2 separate regions of the Homo sapiens genome follow, and region 2 is linked to region 1. The links are contacts of gene promoters, found by promoter capture Hi-C in blood cells and fetal thymus (Javierre and others, 2016). All regions are on one chromosome and are shown on one strand. Each heading gives the region's core, a stretch centred on a gene start or on the middle of the fragment in contact. The rest is flanking DNA. Distances are from core to core; before and after follow the strand shown.

Region 1 (2,700 bases), core at 185-2,684:
TGCGATTACAGCAGAAAACAAAACAAAGCCCCTGACCTCATGGAACACTAAACAGAGGGCAGTGACATCAATGTAAATGTTGAGTGCTAGGAAGAAAAATAAAGAAGGATAAGATGATTCGGCAGGGTTGGGCAGAGCTCGCTATTTTAATTGTGGTGGTCAATAGGATGCCATTCAAGCTGAAAACGGAAGTAAGGGTAAAAACTAGGCAGACATCTGGGGAAAGACAATCAAGGTCCCGGGGAAGTAGCATGCCTGGCACATTGAATGAAGAGCAAGGAGGGTGGGGAGGCTGGGGCGGAGTGAGCAAAGGAGAGAATAGAATAAGACATCAGCGTAGGACCTAGGGAATATCTTTATCATGATTGCAAGCCTTCTGCGCTGTCTGTAATAATAATATTATTATTTTTTGAGACGGAGTTTTGCTGTTGTTGCCCAGGCTGGAGTGCGATGGTGCGGTCTCGGCTCACTGCAACCTCTGCCTTCCGGGTTCAAGCAATTCTCCTGCCTCGGCCTCCCAAGTAGCTGGGATTACAGGCGCCCGCCACCACGCCCGGCTAATTTTTGTATTTTTAGTAGAGACAGGGTTTCACCATGTTGGCCAAGCTGGTCTCGAATCCTGACCTCAGGTGATCCGCCCACCTCGGCCTCCCAAAGTCCTGGGATTACAGGCGTAAGCCACGGCGCCCGGCCTGAAATAATATTAACAACAGCAAAAGATCATTTTGCAGGCCAGGCACGGTGCTCACGCCTGTAATCCCAGGACCTTGGGAGGCTGAGGCGGGAGGTTGGCTAGATCCCAGGAGTTCGAGACCAGCCTGGACAACAGGGCGAAACCCATCTCTACCAAAAATTAGGCGGGCGTGGTGGCGCACGACTGTATTCCTAGCTACTCAGGAGGCTGAGGTGGGAGGATTGCTTGAGCCCCATTGGTCGACGCTGCAGTGAGCCGTGATCGCACCACTGCACTCCAGCCTGGGTAACAGAGGGAGACCCTGTCCCCGCCCCACTAAAAAAAAAAATCATTTTTAAATTGCAACCTCCCATCTCCATCTGCAACAACTCCCCGTTCTCAGCTCAACTGATAGGTAACCTCTAGAGATGGCTGTAGTACAAGAATGAAAAAAGGTACTCATTCATAAATCTGATCCATAGTGGTGGCATTTCCGGGAAAAACGTTCCATACCCCTACCATCCGGGCGACCCCAATTGCACCTGGCGGACCAGGCAAGGGCGGAAAGGAGCAGCGCCTGCGCGTGGTGAGCGCGGCCCCGCCCAGCCCGCTAGTGGGCGGGCAGAAACTGGCCACAGAGCAGTCTCCGGAAGCTGCCTCTGGCTGCTCTGTTAACGTGTCCCGCGAGCGAGGCGCGTCGCAAAAGGTCGCGGCGGAACTTCCCTGCGCTTTTCAGACCATACTCTTTACGGTACTAGGCACTGCTGAGCTGGGAGATGTCGGCGGCGTGTTGGGAGGAACCGTGGGGTCTTCCCGGCGGCTTTGCGAAGCGGGTCCTGGTGACCGGCGGTGCTGGTTTCATGTAGGTAATGGCGCCGCTAGCCAAGCAGTGGCTCCCCAGAAACCCCTACCTTTTCCCGCAGCTCTGCTTGCCCTAGGTAATTTGGGTCCAGCTTTGAGGGGTCCTTATTCTGATATGGGGAGGGTCCTAATGCACGACCTGGACCAGCTTTTCTCTCTCTGGCCTGCAAAGAAGTGGTTCCTTTGAAACTGACTTCTTTAAAACGCCTCTTCCAAAGCTGCGTTACTCTCCGCCCTTCTGTGGCCGGAGGTGCTCACCATGTCACTCCTTGAGTGCGTGCAAGTTACCCTAAGCTGCTCACCGACTGCTTCCCACCTCCAGCCTAGAGCACCCACACCCCACGATGGGCCCTGTACATATAGGCACCCCCAAAACGATTTAAGGACTATAATAGGACATCTATGTAATCAGCAAACTTTTACAAATCCACTGTTGACACCCTTTTCTTCCTCAGACCCACATTCGAGCAGCAAGTCCTCTCTACTTCCAAAGTATATCCTTACGGCGACCACTTCTCACCAGTTTCCCGTTTCCACCCTAGCCCATGTTTACTGTCATCTTTTGCCTCGACTGCTGCTGTAGCCTCTTGGTTGGCCATAACTGCGTCCACTCATGTTCCTTTAAAGCCTGTTGCTCACATACAAGTCAGTGTTTCTTAAGTCAATCAGATCATGGTAGAAGCAGGATTTTACTTCAGTGGTTCCTGCCACACTTAAGAATAAAGCCCAAACTCTACCATATCTAGAAAACTCAAGTGCCCAAGCCCTACTTTTGCAACCTGATCTGCTTTTCTGTACCTGCCATGCTTCCCCTCTTAGTTCTTGGAACACACCAAGATACACACTTCTGTCTTGAGGCCTTTGCACTTGCTTCCCCTTTCCTTAGGCTGTTTGCACCACTCAATTCTGGTTTTTATTCAGATAGCACCTCAGAGAGTTCTTACCTGACCACCATATCTAAAATAGCCCCTCTCCCAACTAGCACACTTAACCTCTACCTGAAATTATATTGCGGATTTGTGTCTGCTTGTTTATTGCTTGTATCCCCACTCTAAAATGCAAACTCGGTAAGGACAGAGACTACTGTTCATTCAGCACCTGGAAGAATGCCTGGCCCATTCTATATAAGTCTTTAGTAATTGTGGAATGGATGAATGCAAGAGTAA
Region 2 (2,742 bases), core at 241-2,740, 1.1 Mb before region 1:
AATAGACTTCGTGTTATAGGAAATAAAAATAGCAAGGGTCTTCAATGGTGAGTGATTTTGAGATTAATTACATAACTATGAATTCTGTAATATTAGAACTAAGCTTTACAAAGCATTCCTTAAAAAAAGATAATTTTACAACAAAGGTAACATTAGACAGAAAAAAATGTACAAAACTAAAATTAAGTGATTAATGCTTGGGAATGTTTCCTCCAATGTTCATCTAGTCATGGTTTTCACGAATCACTCTTGCCAATAAAACCGAAAATCAAAGTAATCTAGTGAGTGTAAGAAAAGTTACTGTAAATATGTTTGCATTCGTCAGACTCTATGGAGTCTTTTTGAAGTTAAACATTAAATCTCCACTGTAATTCATACTGTTAATTATAGTAGCAAAAGACTTAAAAAACAATGGTAGCATATTTATGATATATCCAAAATTAAGAGTATTATGCAATTTTTATTAGGTTGATCTATGTTTATTGACTAGGAAAAACAATGTTGGTAGAGAGGAGTGAACAGATCTAGAACATATTTTGTAGGTAAAGGGAATAAGATTTGTTTAGGAATTAACTATGAGGAGAAATAAATGTTCAGAAACAAGTAGAGCACTTATAAACACCTTTTTGTGCCAAATTAAGAACAAAAAAGTCAGCATTAAGTTAATGCCACCATATACATCCTTCCACATTTATGTTTACAAACTTGTGCTTTTATTTCTAGGAAACATTTCTAGGCTGGGCGCAGTGGCTCACACCTGTAATGCTAGCGCTTTGGGAAGCCAAGATGGGAGGATTATTTGAGGCCGGGAGTTTGCGACCAGCCTGAGCAACATAGCAGGATCCTGTCTCTGCAAAAAAATTTAAAACTAGCCAGGTGCGGTGGCTCGTGCCTGTTGCCCTAGCTACTCAGGGAGACTGAGGCAGAGGATTGCTTCAACCCAGGAGTTTGAGGTTGCAGTGAGCTAAGATCATGTCACTGCACTCCAGACTGAGCAACAGAGTGACACTTTATAAAAAAAAAAAAAAAAAAAACTAGGTTTTTGAACTTGCTTAATCAAAGAATTTGTTTAAACTTTTAAGATGCGTTGTCAGATTATCTTTCCCTAAAGGAATAATTTCTATTCCTATCAGCTGTTTATATTCCTGCCTAGTCACCATCACTAGATATAATTGATTTTCAGTTTTTGCCAATCTGAGGAACAAAAAATGACCCTTATATGTCAAATTTACAGTTTATTTTCAAGGATTTTGGGATTCTGATCAAATTTTGGTACCTTCATATAAAATTTGGCTTTTATATCACATCTTGTCTTCTCTGCTTTCCACCCTCTTTTATGTTGTTTTTTGGCTTCTGGCCGCATGACTATAATCTCCGCTTTTGTATTCACATCACCTTCTGTCATTTTTGACCTTGCCTCCGTCTTACAAGGATCCTTGTAATTAATTATATTGGGCCTGCTGAGATAATCCAGGATATTCTTCCTACTCAAGTTCCTCAATTTAATCACATCTGCAAAAACTGCCTTTTGCTATAGAACAATGACAGGAGATTAGAATGTAAACATATTTGGGGGACCGTTATTCAGCTTAACACAATACGTCCCCCTTCATCAGGTGGAGCTTATTTTCCCTCCTTCCTTGAGTGTGGGCTGGACTTAGTGACTAACTTCCAAAGAACAGAGTATGGAAAGGGAGGAGGAGAGTAACTTCATAGTACAGAAACCTGGAAACACTGTCTTGGCCAGGTGGTCAAAGTTAATATCATCAAGTCATGTTGATAGCATATACTCCCAATATACTGTGATGAGAAGGGCAATTCACCTCTGTGGTATTCTCAAAACCTATAACCCAATCTAGTCTAAACATGAAAAAAAAAAAATCAAACTAAAATTGAAGGACATTCTATAAAACACCTGATCAGTATTCCTCAAAACTATCAACGTCGTGGGGAACAAGGAAAGATTGAAATACTGTAACAGACCAGAGGAAACTAAGGAAACTTAATTGATGACTGAATGCAGTGTGCTGTGTTGAACTGGATCCTAGAGAAAATAGACATTAGTGGAAAAACTACTGAAATATGAATAGTCTCAAGTTTAATAGTAGTGTACCATTATTACTTTCTTAGTTTTGACAAATGTACCATGGTTATGCAAGATGCTAACAATACAGAAAAATAAGGGGTATTTGGGACCTCCCTGTATTATCCTTATGCCCTTACTTGAAAGTTGTTTCAGCAATAGAAGTTTATTTAAAATATTGTGAAGGGCCTGAGTATTTTTAAATCAACTGCAGTGACTCTCTTTTGTGTATTTGTGTACAGATGAGTTTTTCTGCATCGAATTTTATCTCCTTTCCTTGCAGAAGAAAGAGAATTAGCCCTTTACAGAGATAACAGTTGCCTAAGCCAGCTCTTTTCTCCTCTTTTTGATGTTCTTCTTTTTCTCTCAGTTTGAAAATTGTAGGTTATTTGAGTTTTTAAAATGTCTATTGCTACATACACATTCTAGTTATATTCTAGTCCAAACAATCTAGTAAAATATCTAAAAGAAAAATGCTGTTCACTGTATTTTTTATTTTTAAAATGTGAGTGAGTGCATTTAAATAATAGGTTGTGTTATTATAATTATGAGCTAAAAGTTTTGAAGTGTGATTTAAAGAGTCTTTAACATTACAATTCTGGACTACAAAGTGTAAAAATTGTATTTTAAAAGATTCATGTACTGTTTCCGATAAATAG

What was found. The method cuts DNA at HindIII sites, captures the fragments that hold promoters and counts their contacts. A CHiCAGO score of 5 or more calls a contact.
Region 2: a fragment that was not itself captured here is called in contact with the fragment with the promoter of TGDS in region 1 in 1 of 17 cell types (total CD4 T cells); the score reaches 6.0 in total CD4 T cells.

Annotation. Positions count from the first base shown.
Region 1 is chr13:94,594,886-94,597,585 of GRCh38, reverse strand. It overlaps TGDS (TDP-glucose 4,6-dehydratase), which reads left to right and starts at 1,434. Exons shown (of 12, transcript NM_014305.4): 1 at 1,434-1,535. The coding sequence starts at 1,450. RefSeq lists an enhancer at 1,261-1,570. The HindIII fragment of the contact is 5,991 bases long and covers 1-2,700 here.
Region 2 is chr13:95,672,650-95,675,391 of GRCh38, reverse strand. It overlaps DNAJC3-DT (DNAJC3 divergent transcript), which reads left to right. Exons shown (of 2, transcript NR_132117.1): 2 at 724-2,557. Among named protein-coding and RNA genes, the nearest start is that of DNAJC3-DT, 2.9 kb to the left of the region's middle. The HindIII fragment of the contact is 2,769 bases long and covers 106-2,742 here.